5 separate regions of the Homo sapiens genome follow, and regions 1, 2, 3 and 4 are each linked to region 5. The links are contacts of gene promoters, found by promoter capture Hi-C in human tissues and cell types (Jung and others, 2019). All regions are on one chromosome and are shown on one strand. The core of a region is centred on a gene start or on the middle of the fragment in contact, and the rest is flanking DNA. Distances in the headings are between cores, read along the strand shown.

Region 1 (2,700 bases), core at 186-2,685, 370 kb before region 5:
TCATCATAAATATGATAGTAAACCATACGTGACTGTGTGGTGTATCAATAGGAGAGCGCTCAAAAGAATTTCTTTTTTTTTTTTTCTTTTTTTTTTGAGATGGAGTCTCACTCTGTCGGCCAGGCTGGAGTGCAAGTGGCACAGTCTGGGCTTACTGCAACCTCTGCCTTCCAGGTTCAAGCTATTCTCCTGCCTCACCCTCCTGAGTAGCTGGGATTACAGGCACAGGTCACCATGCCTGGTTAATTTTTGTATTTTTTATAGAGACGGGGTTCCTCCATGTTGGCCAGGGTGGTCTCGATCTCCTGACCTCAGGTGGTCTGCCAGCCTCGGCCTCCCAAAGTGCTGGGATTACAGGCGTGAGCCACCACACCCAGCCCAAAAGAATTTCTTCTAGGACGTGTGCTTGCTTCAGGTGTATTGATTGCTATTCAAAGCAAGAAGCTTCTCTGGATTGTATACTATGAAGAAGCAAGGTTATTTCTGGCCTTGGTTATTATGATAGTTCTTACCCAGAAGTAAAAAAGATGGAGTGGCGCTAAGTTTATTACCTAAACACTGAAATATTTCTTATGATGAATTAGACATGGCTTCCCATAAGATACCTCAGTTGAAATATATAAATTCTAACTATTGATAATTTTTTTTTTTTGAGACAGAGTCTGGCTCTGTTGCCCGGGCTGGAGTGCAGTGGCGCAGTCTCGGCTCACTGCAAGCTCCACCTCCCGGGTTCACACCATTCTCCTGCCTCAGCCTCCCGAGTAGCTGGGACTACAGGTGCCCGCCACCACACCCGGCTAATTTTTTTGTAATTTTAGTAGAGACGGGGTTTCACCATGTTAGCCAGGATGGTCTTGATCTCCTGACCTCGTGATCTGCCTGCCTCGGTCTCCCAAAGTGCTGGGATTACAGGCGTGAGCCACCGCCCCCGGCCAACTACTGATAATTTTTAAAAGTCTCCCTTATTAGTCAAATTAGGCTAATGCCTCTAGGAAAGTTGTCAGAATATAAACCTAGCAAGGGACAGAGACATGATCACTATTCTAATCAAGCCTCTCTTGCTCAGATAATATGCTCTTGATGCTAATTTTTCAATATGCCTCATATGCCAGAACTGTAGACTCAGAACATCCAGAATTAAGCACAAATGATGCAGGCACTGAAGGCTCTGATATGGGAACACAAAGTGAATAAATTCTTGAAATCCTGGTGCTTATATTTTTGTGAGAAAGGAGAGGGGTTGAAAAAATGGTAAGACTGGTTTATAAGAAGGAAATAAGCACTTTGAAGGAAAGTAAATGATGGTGTGAGATAATACGGAAGCTGAGGGTGTGTGTATATGTTCTCTGTGGAGGGTGGCAACATCAGTGAGTGAAGAAATGTCACCATCGGTCATTTATATTTCCACCTCTTATACATCTTCAGCACCATTTCAGGAACTGCTTAAGTGTGGATGTAGATAGTGCATAGCAATATAGACAGTCCTGCCTTTTTGAGGTTAACAATAATGATTCCCCGTAAAGATATAGGTATGGCTTATTGTCATTTTTGCATTGGTTAAAAATTTTAATGCATGTAATATGTGATGCTGACTTTGGACATGGGTATCTGGAACCTGGAGGAAGGCACACCACTGCATACGGTGTGTGCTAGAACCACGTTGGATCCCTGTTGAAACATCTTAAGTGTTCTGCCCCTTAAGCCACAGGGGCGGAGCCTGAAGTTATATCCAGTTAGGGGTGCCAGGATGGCATCCTACTTATTGTCCAATCAGGCGCGCCTCAGAGCCCTGTCTGCCCCCAACCTCACCCCACCCTGTACGATCTTGTGGTGAATTTTCTTTTCTTGAGCTGGCTGCATTACCTTTCTTCTGGCTCCTGGCTCCACTGCCCTGGCTCTGTGCTCTGTGCTGGCCGTGGTAGCCGGAGGGAGGACCCAGGAGACCCCGAAGATGGGAAATGGCGAGTGTGGGAAATGGCAAGTGTGCAGGGGCCTGGGGTCCGACATGGCTGGAGGGGCCCAGGCCTCCTCGCCATCAGCATCCGATTCTGTTTCATCTGAGTTGCTCAAATGTGTGGGAAGCAGGGTATCAAATCCACCCCCGGCCTAACTCTCCTTGATCTGGCAGCAAACTGCTAAATTGTAGGTATAATTTCTGCAGTCCCCAACACCAGCTTCTGTTCTCGGATGCACAGTGTTATCAACTATTTGGTTTTTTTGTTTTGTTTTGTTTTTGCATTTGTTTTTGTTTTTTTTTTTTTGGTGGAGTCTCATTCTGTCGCCGAGGCTGGAATGCAGTGGCGCAATCTCCACTCACTGCAATGTCCGCCTCCTGGATTCAAGCGATTTTCCTGCCTCAGCCTCCTGAGTAGGTGGGATTACAGGCACCTGCCACCACGCCCAGCTAATTTTTTTTGGGGGGGGACAGAGCCTCACTGAGTCGCCCAGGCTGGAGGGCAGTGGTGTGATCTTGGCTCACTGCAAGCTCCGCCTCCCGGGTTCACACCATTCTCCTGCTTCAGCCTCCCGAGTAGCTGGGACTACAGGCACCCACCACTACGCCCGGCTAATTTCTTTGTATTTTTAGTAGAGACAGGGTTTCACCATATTAGCCAGGATGGTTTCGATCTCCTGACCTCGCAATCCGCCTGTCTCTGCCTCCCAAAGTACTGGGATTACAGGTGTGAGCCACCGCGCCCG
Region 2 (2,700 bases), core at 64-2,563, 330 kb after region 5:
GTGGGGGGTACCGGCAGGCCCAGTACTTGGGAGGCTGAGGTAGGAGGATCACCTGAGCCCTGGGAGGTCAAGGCTGCAGTGAGCTGTGATACTGCACTCCAGCCTAGGTGACTGGGTGAGACCTTGTCTAAAAGAAAATAAAATAGGGGAAATAGATGCCCAAGGTCTGACAGGGGAGATCTCCCACCCCACTATGGAGGTCAGGGGTTAGCTTGGAAAAATGCATAGGAACTCGGCTGGGCAGGGTGGCTCATTCCTGTAATCCCAGCACTTTGGGAGGCCAAGGCGGGTAGATCACTTGAGGTAGAAACCAGGAGTTCGAGACCAGCCTGGCCAACATGGTGAAACCTCGTCTGTACTAAAAATATGAAAATTAGCCTGGTGTGATGGTGCGCCTTTAATACCAGCTACTTGGGAGGCTGAGACAGGAGAATTGCTTCAACCCCAGAGGCAGAGATTGCAGTGAGCCAAGATTGTGCCACTGCACTCCAGCTTGGGTGACAGAGCGAACTCCCACCGTCTCAAAAACAAAGAAAAAAAAAAGTTGGGGGGAATAGATGCCCAGGGTCTGACAGTGCAGATCTCCCCGACCACCCCATGCACGTCAGGGGTTACCTTGGAAAAATGGGACCCGAGTCTCTCCCCAGCCCCCAATCCAGGCCTCACCCTTCGTGTGCCCACGCATGGAAGAGTCCTGAGCCTTGCTGGGTTGAGGCGGTTGGTCATTGTAGAGCAGGAAGGCGAGCTGCGGGCGGATAAACGGAGGCAACGTGAAATTCCTCCCAGGCAGGGCAGCCCTAGAGTTTCGCCCCTAGTTGGCCCGGGGCCCCCTTCACCTGGCTGGTGTTGCTCCGGTACAGCGGCTGCAGGCTTCGGCCCACGGCCCCCTCCGGGCTGTTGATGAGTGCCCTGCCGTCCCGCCAGCCTCCGGAGCTCTCGTCCAGATACTTGTACTGCAGCCCTCTCTGCGCCGCCTCCCCGGACCCTCTAAGAGCTGGCAGCTTGTAGACCACGAACCTGGAGGTCGGAGAATGCACAGAAATAGGAGAGAGGGAAGAGAAGGCACCCCAGGGTTCCCCGAGGAGGTAGCCATCCCGGTTGAGTGACCGCAGCCGGACCCCGGGGCGATGGTAGGCCCCCCGCTGCGCACTCACCAGTCTACAGGCTGCCCGGAGTCCCCGTAGCAGGTCAGGGCCCCGGCGGGGACGCACAGCAGCGCTGCCAGCAGCAGCGGGATCATAGCTGCTATGGGGCTGAGATCCAGGAATCTGTGTCGGGACTGCGGGGCGCTGGGTTACATCAGAGGCCAGGACTGGCACCTGGCGCCTTTCACTTCCCTAAACTTGCCTGGGAACCGGGGCGGGGACATCACGAGGGTACAGACTCCTCCCCCGAGACGCGATGCTGCGTTTTGGAGAGGCAAAAGGCAACGCTGAGTCTGCCCAGACCACGCCCACGACGGGCCCGGCGCTCCAGCGTCTCCTGGAGCCTGGCCACCGTTCCTTTTCGTGGTAGCTAATCCCAGCCCACGCTCTTCTGTCTGACCCAACTCCCGCCCGGGTTTCTGGATCAGGCACAAGTTTGTATTTTATTTTTTATTCCAGCCCTACAACCTGGGTCCAACTCTTGGGACCTTTGTTCTTCCTCTTTTTTTTTTTTTTTTTTTTTTTTTTTTTTTGAGACGGAGTTTCACTCTTGTCGCCCAGGCTGGAGTGCAATGGCACGATCTCGGTTCACTGCAACCTCCGCCTTCCTGATTAAAGCGATTATCCTGCCTCAGCCTCCCGAGTAGCTGGGATTACAGGCGCCCGACACCACGCCCGGCTAATTTTTGTAGTTTTAGTAGAGACGGGGTTTTTCCATGTTGACTAGGCTGGTCTCGAACTCCTGACCTCGTGATCCACCAGCCTCGGCCCCCGAAAGTGCCAAGATTGCAGAAGTGAGCCACTGCGCCCCTTAAGAAGCATTTGTGTTCCAGTGTATCTTCCCCTTTTTCTTTCTTTTTTTTTTTCCTTCCTTTTTTTTTTTTTTTTTTCCCGGACAATATCTCGCTCTGTTGCCCAGGCCGGAGTGCAGTGGCGCAATCTTGGCTCACTGCAACCTCTGCCTCCCCAGCTCAAGTGATCCTCTCACCTCAGCCTCCCGAGTAGCTGGGATCACGGGCACATGCCACTATGCCCAGCTAATTTTTGTAGTTTTTTTTTTGAAACACGGTTTCACCATGTGGCTCAGGCTGAACTCCTGAGCTCAAGGGATCCACCTGTCTTGCCTCCCAAAGTGCTGGGATTACAGGCATGTAATCCACGCCACCCAGACTCTCCTTTTTCATTCTGCACGTTTTCTCCAGGATCCCCTGAGCTAGCAAAGAGGTGACTGTATGTTTGTTTTTTGTCGTTTTGAGACAGGATAATGGTTTCTCACCCAGGCTAGAATGCAGTGACTCCATCACAGTTCACTGCAGCCTCAACCTACTGGGCTCAAGAGATCTTCCCAGGTAGCTGGTACTACAGGCCTGTGCCACCACACCCAGATAATTGTTCATTGCAGAGATGAGGGTCTCACTATGTTGCCCAGGCTGCTCTGGAACTCCGGGGTTCAAGTGATTCTCCCACCTCAGCCTCAAAGGATCATGGCAGGGCAAAGGGCTATGGGAATCTGAGTACTGGCTTGAAACTGCCTTTGCAAAAATTATGACAGAAA
Region 3 (2,700 bases), core at 14-2,513, 420 kb before region 5:
CTGGAGTGCAGTGTTGCAGTCTCAGCTCACTGCAACCTCTGCCTCCCAGGTTCAAGTGATTCTCCTGCTTCAGCCTCCCGAGTAGCTGGGATTACAGGTGGCCACCACCCCAGCCGGCTAATTTTTGTACTTTTAGTAGAGACAGGGTTTCACTATGTTGGCCAGGCTGGTCTAGAACTCCTGACCTCAAGTGATCCGCCCGCCTTGGCCTCCCAAAGTGCTGGGATTATAGGCATAAGCCGCCGTGCCTGGCCCCTGAAATACTTTTTAATATAGGGTGTAAGCCAGGCGCGGTGGCTCACATCTGTAATACAAATACAAATACAAAAATTAACCAGGTGTGGTAGTGCGTGCCTGTAATCCCAGCTACTCGGGAGGCTGAGGCAGGAGAATTGCTTGAACCCAGCAGGTGAAGGTTGCAGTGAGCTGAGATCGCACCACTGCACTCAAGCCTGGCGACAGAGCGAGACTCTGTCTCAAAAAAAAAAAAAGTGTGTAACAGTTGGTGAAAAGGTTCAAAAAAAAAAAGAAAAGAAAAGAAAGGTGACACTTAAATTTACATGACTTTTTTTTTTTTTTTTTTGAGACAGCGTCTTGCTCTGTCACCCAGGCTGGAGTGCAGTGGCACAATCTTGGCTCAATGCAAGCTCTGCCTCCCAGGTTCATGCCATTCTCCTGCCTCAGCCTCCTGAGTAGCTGGGACTACGGGCGCCCGCCACCACGCCCGGCTAATTTTTTGTATTTTTAGTAGAGACAGGGTTTCACCATGTTAGCCAGGATGGTCTCGATCTCCTGACCTCGTGATCTGTCTACCTTGGCCTCCCAAAGTGCTGGGATAACAGGCGTGAGCCACCGCACCCAGCCTACATGACTTAACTTTTTACCTTGTTAAACAGAGAGCAATCAACCCTGTGAACGTTATGTTCCAGATTCTGACAAGTGTGTTGAAAAAATTCTACACACTAAATGAAATAGGAGTAATGGGTGAGAGAGTGTGACCTTGAGTTTCAAGTTGGGGTAAGGGGGGCGGAAAAGAAGACAGTGTCTTGAGGTGGTGACATCTGTAGTGAGATCTGAAATGACGTGTTAGTATATGAAGTCAGGAAAGAGGATTCTGGGAAGATGGCAGAATAGGAAGTATCAAGCAGAAACTACAGGAAGCCATTTTTGTGAACTGAGTTCCTCTGCTGGGCCCTCAGAAACCAGACCTACCCCAGCGATTAGGAAATTACACCTAGGCAATCGTCATTGCCCCACACGCTACAAAGAACGTTCAGTAGACAATGGCTTGAGAAATGCGCCCAGTCCAATCTTTGGGTAAGCCAGGTGCAGAGATGTACAAAAAGACTGTCCTTGGCAAAGTTCTATGGTCACATGATGTTTGAGGCAGTTCTGCATATCATATGAGGGCCTTATTGGAGTTCTTGTGTATCTCTGCCAAGAGAGTACTGCACAGCAGAGGTCATTATTGCAACTTCCGTGCCATTTATTTATTTTGAGACAGAGTCTTGCTCTTTTGCCAGGCTGAAGTGCAGTGGCACGATCTCAGCTCACTGCAGTCTCTGCCTCCCGGGTTCAAGGGATTCCTCTGCCTCAGCCTCCTGAGTAGCTGGGACTATAGGAGCCCGCCACCACGCCCGGCTAATTTTTTGTATTTTAGTAGAGACAGGTTTCACCATGTTGGCCAGAATGGTCTCAATCTCCTGACTTCATGATCCGCCCGCCTCGGCCTCCCAAAGTGCCGGGATTACAGGCATGAGCCACTGCACCCAGCCACTTCTGTGCCATTTAATTGTTCACCAGTTGCCACAGGTCTATCTGTGTACACCTGAGTTGCTTGAGTGGTTCTAAACAAATGAATTTAACTTTCATTGTGGTGTTGAATTTTTGTATATACCTTTTATGAATTATTTTGACCGTGGGCTGACCAATATCATGAGTAAAAGATTTAAAAGGTCTAGAGGAGCCAGGCATGTTGGCTCATGCCTATAATCCCAGCACTTTGGGAGGCCGAGGCAGATGGATCGCTTGAGGCCAGGAGTTTAGAGACCAGTCTGGCCAACATGGTGAAACTCCAATTCTACAAAAAACACAAAAATTAACTGGGCATGGTGGTGTTCGCCTGTAGTGCCAGCTACTTGGGAGGTTGTGACGAGACTTGCTTGAACCTGGGAAGCAGAGGTTGCAGTGAGCTGAGATCGTGCCACTGCAATTCAGCCTAGGCAACAGAGCGACACTCTGTCTCAAAAAAAAAAAAAAAAAAGCCATAGGTAGGAAGCAAAATGTAAATAATGAGAAAAATATATATCTTAAGTTCACATTTGAAATATGTAAGAAAATTTGGTGATGCTGCAAATAAACTGAGGATTGTAATTATATAAATTACAAGTTTTTCCTGAGAAAAAACACATTTTCAACCTAAGTACATTGATCTTAAAGGATTTTTCCTTTGCTTTTTGACCTTGCTTTGTGAAAAAGTGCAAAAATAAGACATGAATAGTCAAAATAAGAATTTTTGGGCCAGGCGTGGTGGCTCACACTTATAATCCCAGCACTTTGGGAGGCCGAGGTGGGCGGATCACGAGGCCAGGAGATCGAGACCATCCTGGCTAACATGGTGAAACCCTGTCTCTACTAAAAAAAAAAATACAAAAAAATAGCCAGGCGTGGTGGCGGGCACCTGTAGTCCCAGCTACTCGG
Region 4 (2,700 bases), core at 78-2,577, 270 kb before region 5:
AGACTCCATCTCAAAAAAAAAGAAAAAAAATTTACTTTCTCTAACTTACTTTATTCTGAGAATACAGTATGCAATACATATGACATATATGTGCTCGTCACTTGTTTATATGACTGATAAGGCTGCTGGTCAAAAGTAGGTTAAGCTGTGGCAGACAAAAGATTATATGAGGACATACAACAGGTTGGGGCCTGGCACTTCACCCTGTGTTGTTCAGGAATGAACTGTATCCCTTTTCCATATTTCAAATCACTGAACAGCATTGATGACCACAAAACAAATGTCTCTAATTGACCAAATGAAGACATGATGTCATCCATACCTATACAGTTCAGGTTCCTAATGGTTTCTCGCATCACATCTCTGTAGAGATTCTTCTGTGATGGACCCAGCAAAGCCCACTCCTCATGGGTGAAGTTCACAGCCACATCCTCAAAGGCCACTGAGTCCTGAAACATCCCATATGTCCAGAAAAGGAAGGTTGAAACTCACAGTACTGAGAACCTATACTCACCTTCATAAACTTCCCATGATGCTGTGGTTTCCAAGCATTTATTCAATGACGTGGTAAATCCACTCTTATTCTGTGTCTGCACTCACTGTCTGATGCTGGAATTCTGATGCTGGAATTGGGCTTGCTAAAATAACAGTTGAGTAGGAACATATCTCTTATTGGTGAATTATGCAAGTGAATCTTATTGCCTGGATTACTCCTAATGTCTGTTTCTACAGTGGGTCTGTAGTCCTTGTCATGACAAAGTCCTACCACCTACTGTGCAAAAGAGAGTTACAATTAGCAGTCCTGAGACGGCATATCCTTACAACTGCTTGTTCACAATGTTGAACCTTTCGTGGTGTCTAGACAATGTATTTAGGGGAGGGCCCCGTAAGCATAACTAATAAAGGGGGTGGAGTGTGCCTAAACTATTTGTGTAAAAATTATGGTATTTGCTTAACTCCTAACTTCCCTCTGAGAGTTTGGAATTGTATTACATCCTCAGCAGAGGAAGTGTACCCAATCAGCCACTGCTAGGTTTGAATGTCTTCCCCTCCAAAATGCAGGCTGAAACTGAATCTCCAATGTGGAAGTAATCAAAGGTAGTGGTTTAAGAGGTGAGTGGGTCTTGAGGGTTTGGAACACATGGATGGATTAATCCACTCATGTATGAATGGCTTAATAAATAAACTGGTTATCACAGATGAGGTTCTGGTGTCCTTATGAGAAGAGGAAGATACTTCAGCTAGACACTCAGCCCCCTCATCATGTAATGCCCTGTACCACCCAGGGACTCTACAGAGTCCCCATCAGCAAGAAGATTCCCACCAGATGCCCACTTTGACCTTACTTGATCTTCCCAGCTTTCAGAACTGCAAAAAATAAATATCATTTCTTATAGATTACCCCAGTTCTGGTATCCTGTTGTAAGTAACAAAAAAACAGTCTTATAGACTAAGACATACACAAAGAAACACTCTAGGCACAGGGTCCCTAATGTGCAACTCTGGTAGATGATATTTCATATTTTTGTTGTTGTTGTTTTTTCAATGTCTTACTTGGGGGATTTAGCCTATCCTACGTGATTACACAGAGAGAATATTTGGAAGCTGGTGACTGGTTCCCTGTAGATCAAATGTAGTTAAGTATGACAAAAGACTAATAAAAGAGATTTTACCAACTAAATAGAAAAAATTGTAACTTTCTACTGGGTAATGTCGAAGGAGAAAGAAAAGAAGAGGACAGACTGCAAATGTTCTTAGACAGAATTCAGTGTCAGCTTTCATGAATATCAATTATATTCCATAAATCTCAACAGCAGACATTTAATAATCAATAACATTACATAAACCAATTTTTATAGAAGTCATAAATGTCTAAAGATGCTTAAAAAAAACCTTCTCATCAAGAAAGTAGACAGCTTTACAAAAACAAACAGAAGATTTAAAACTGTAATTTTTCACATCCCATACTATTAACAGAGAGAAAAAGATACATAAACAGGAAAGTGAAAAATGATAGAAAAGCCTTGTATTGTTTTTTCTTTGGCCCCATCTCTGCCCATCTCATTGCCAGTCCTGAAGACAGCAGAGTTCCCAGTGTAGAACTCTGATCACCACAGAGTGTACAGATCACATTTTGTTTCCACATTATTGCCTTTGTATTTTTGAATCAGTCTGGGGACTAACCGAAGGTCTGAAACAAGGCTCTCTTTTCTATTTCATCTACAACAGAATCCAATCAGAGTCAAACTGGGCAGGAACTACTTTAAAATGTTGTAAAATACACAAAAAGTGTGCAACCACCTAGGACAACACAAGATGACTAAGACATACATTAGAAGGCCAGGTGTGGTGGCTCACACCTGTAATCCCAGTACTTTGGGAGGCCAAGGTGTTGGGAACAGGCCCCCAAATCTAGCCATAAACAAAATCTCTGCAGCACTGTGACATGCTCGTGATGGCTATGACGCACATGCTGAAGGTTGTTGGTTTACCGGAATGAGGGCAAGGAACACCTGGCCCACCCAGGGTGGAAAACTGCTTAAGGCGTTCCTGAACCACAAACAATAGCATGGGCCATCTGTGCCTTAAGGACAAGTTCCTGCTGCAGATAACTAGCCAGAGCCCTTCCCTTTGTTTCCCGTAAGGAAGGCTTTTAGTTAGTCTATAATCTATAGAAACAACGCTTATCACTGGCTTACT
Region 5 (2,816 bases), core at 77-2,576:
GTGGCGCATGCCTGTAATCCCAGTTACACGGGAGGCTGAGGCAGGAGAATCGCTTGAACCCAGGAGGTGGAGGTTGCAGTGAGCTGAGATCGCGCCATTGCACTCCAGCCTGGGCAATAAGAGCGAAACTCTGTCTCAAAAAAAAAAAAAAATTTTACCGTAGAGTGTCAGGTTCTTATTCTCCGTTTCCCTCTCAGGTTACAAGTACACAAACAAGAGGCCGGGCGCGGTGGCTCACGTCTGTAATACCAGCATTTTGGGAGGCGGAGGTGAGCGGATCACCTGAGGTCTGGAGTTTGAGACCAACCTGGCCAACATGGAGAAACCCAGTTTCTACCAAAAATACAAAAAGTAGCCGGTCGTGGCGGCGCATGCCTGTAATCCCAGTTACTCAGGAGGCTGAGGCAGGAGAATTGCTTGAACCCGGAAGGCGAAGGTTGCAGTGAGCTGAGATCTTCCCACTGCACTCCAGCCTGGGCGACAGAGCGAAACTCTGTCTGAAAAGAAAAAAAAAACAACAAACAGAAAACAAATCCTTTCAAAAGAGTATGGTGAAAGAAACTATAAACAACTAAAATACTGTGTCTTAAATGTCAAACAAAAAACAGCTGATAATGTTGATTTGGCGAGGGGAGGTCACCTTTGGGAATGCGGGGAAGGAACCGGAAATTTAGGCATTTATTTCCAGCCCCAGAAAAAGCTAGGCTAAAAAAAACGGGAGTCGTAGGTTTGAGATTCTTTTTCCAGTACGTTTGGAAGACTCGGAGGAAGACCAGTCCCCCGGAAAAAAAGACGATGTACTGGGAAGGCCACAGCCCACAGCTCTTCCCATGCACGAACCGCACACCCGAGACGGGATTCCGCCTTATGACCCTCCCGTGTCCCAGTACAAACAATCTGGAGAGAGGCGGGGCTGCGGGCGCGGAGCTGCCCAGACAGGGCTCCGAGGCCGAGGCCGCAGTCGCCGCGCAGGGACGGGACAGGACGCCTGGGGTACTGGCTACGGCCCAACCCACCCTGCGGCCGAGGGGACAGAGGGCCGAGCTGCGCCAGGGAACTCGGGTCCCAGACCCTGGAGTCGCTGCAGGGAGGCCAGGGTGCTTCCACAGCCGGTTCCGGCCGGTTCCCACAAGCCCCTCCCCCAGTCTCCAGGCGCCCGGCCCCGCACACGCACCATTTCCTGGCTTCCAGGGTGTCCCGGGGTCCTGCCTACGGCTCTCTCCGGCCTGTGCAGGTCCCAGCGCGCCAGACGCTGCGGTGGAGCCACCGGGGCCACTGGAGAAGCGGAGACCGGAACCCAAACGCAGCGGACACGAAACAGGAAGACCCCGCGGAGTTGTTGAACATTGCCCCTGTCCCCCTTGCAGAGTTCCTGATTGGATGGTTTGCAGGTTCCCGCCCCAGTGCCCCTGATTGGGTGATGATTCAAGTCCTGCCCCCTTGGTACTGAGTGACAGGAGAAGCAATGCGGTATGTGGCTGAGTAAAGACAGATTGACAGGGTCTTGGCCACTGCCCTTCGCGGGCCGGGCTTCCTCCTTCTGTAACCTTCTGTGCCGGGGAGGATATTTGCATTTAAGCAGAAAGTGTTTCAGGCTCTGCAGAGGTGACACTGGCGTGTTTCTGCACTCAGGGTGCCCTTCCTGCCTTTTCCTCCCGGACACAGAGTCACAAGTGTGCACAGGGAATGACAGACTCGGCGTCCAGTGGAGCCATCCCCTGGCCTCGGAGTAGGAGGCGCGCCCAGGCCAGGCCAGACCACAGTGTAACAGGAGGGAGGAGGGCTTGCTTCTTTCAGGCAAGAAAATTAAAACGGACAAAGAAATAAAAGTATTAAATGTATAGGAAAAACTGGAGTTTTTATGACAGCGATCATCTATAAAGAAACCAAGAGAAGTAAGCAAACATTTGAACTAGCTCAGACAAGCAGCCTGCTTCACCCGCAGTTCACAAGGAAAACCCACAATCATAACGTTAAAAATATTCCCAAGCGCCGGGCGCGGTGGCTCACGCCTGTAATCCCAGAACTTTGGAAGGCCAAGGTGAGAAAATTGCTTAAGGTCAGGAGTTCAAGACCAGCCTAACCAACATGGTGAAACCCCATCTCTACTAAAAATACAAAAATTAGCCAGGCGTGGTGGCAGGTGCCTGTAATCCCAGCAACTCGGGAAGCTGAGGTACGAGAATCGCTTGAACCTGGGAGGGGGAAGTTGCAGTGAGCCGAGATAGCGCCATTGCACTCCAGCCTGGGCGACAGAGCGAGACTAAAAAATGAAATATGAAATGAAATGAAATAATGAAATGAAGAAATGAAATATAAAATAAAATAATCCCAAGCTTGGGACCCAGACTCTAACTGCTGAAATGGAACCCCAGTGTGGATCAGAACCTGGTGATGAGACAGGGACACTTAAGAATTCAACTTTGGGAGCTCAAGGTGCCCTCCAGTCCTCTCCTCACAGTGTGGAAACACTCTTTCCTTCAAAACCTTCATTTGTACCAGCAGGAAACTCTCACCCGGAGTCAATGTAAAGTCGTGACCTAAATAAATTGTCATGTTCCCAAACCTTTTCTCCAGGGGACAATGCAAACAAGTTTTTCACTGAGTCTGACCCTCACAGATTTTCTTCATGTATACAAATTACAGCCTGACTCAGCGACCCCATGAATGCTAAAACCAAAACACTGTCCAGGAAATGGCCCCAGGCGCCAAAGGTACAACCTCAGAAAAGACAGAACCCTCCACCCCCAACCCAACCACATCTGCACATGGGTCTCCTGCTTTTCACAGCTCTGCAGCTTCTCAGAATCCACATT

The links. The method cuts DNA at HindIII sites, captures the fragments that hold promoters and counts their contacts. A contact is called where the count stands out against the background at its distance.
Region 1: a fragment that was not itself captured here is called in contact with the fragment with the promoter of ZNF564 in region 5 in 6 of the 25 tissues and cell types used here (H1 embryonic stem cells, dorsolateral prefrontal cortex, heart left ventricle and 3 more).
Region 2: the fragment with the promoter of DNASE2 here is called in contact with the fragment with the promoter of ZNF564 in region 5 in 1 of the 25 tissues and cell types used here (adrenal gland).
Region 3: a fragment that was not itself captured here is called in contact with the fragment with the promoter of ZNF564 in region 5 in 5 of the 25 tissues and cell types used here (aorta, dorsolateral prefrontal cortex, heart right ventricle and 2 more).
Region 4: a fragment that was not itself captured here is called in contact with the fragment with the promoter of ZNF564 in region 5 in 5 of the 25 tissues and cell types used here (adrenal gland, dorsolateral prefrontal cortex, lymphoblastoid cells and 2 more).

The regions. Positions count from the first base shown.
Region 1 is chr19:12,179,232-12,181,931 of GRCh38, forward strand. The region is part of intron 1 of ZNF136 (zinc finger protein 136); the gene reads left to right. Among named protein-coding and RNA genes, the nearest start is that of ZNF136, 17 kb to the left of the region's middle. The HindIII fragment of the contact is 3,876 bases long and covers 1-2,700 here.
Region 2 is chr19:12,880,136-12,882,835 of GRCh38, forward strand. DNASE2 (deoxyribonuclease 2, lysosomal) reads right to left here and starts at 1,314. Exons shown (of 6, transcript NM_001375.3): 1 at 1,155-1,314; 2 at 837-1,017; 3 at 667-745. The coding sequence starts at 1,240. RefSeq lists enhancers at 845-1,472, 1,132-1,241 and cis regulatory regions at 1,136-1,696, 2,436-2,700. The HindIII fragment of the contact is 10,490 bases long and covers 180-2,700 here.
Region 3 is chr19:12,127,101-12,129,800 of GRCh38, forward strand. No RefSeq gene overlaps it. Among named protein-coding and RNA genes, the nearest start is that of ZNF20, 12 kb to the right of the region's middle. The HindIII fragment of the contact is 9,523 bases long and covers 1-2,700 here.
Region 4 is chr19:12,275,634-12,278,333 of GRCh38, forward strand. ZNF44 (zinc finger protein 44) reads right to left here. Exons shown (of 4, transcript NM_016264.4): 2 at 323-449. Among named protein-coding and RNA genes, the nearest start is that of ZNF44, 18 kb to the right of the region's middle. The HindIII fragment of the contact is 9,813 bases long and covers 1-2,700 here.
Region 5 is chr19:12,550,156-12,552,971 of GRCh38, forward strand. It overlaps ZNF564 (zinc finger protein 564), which reads right to left and starts at 1,327. Exons shown (of 4, transcript NM_144976.4): 1 at 1,175-1,327. The coding sequence starts at 1,177. It overlaps LINC02926 (long intergenic non-protein coding RNA 2926), which reads left to right and starts at 1,571. Exons shown (of 2, transcript NR_187485.1): 1 at 1,571-2,714. RefSeq lists enhancers at 1-466, 1,125-1,234, 1,300-1,594, 2,378-2,816 and a silencer at 815-894. The HindIII fragment of the contact is 29,302 bases long and covers 1-2,816 here.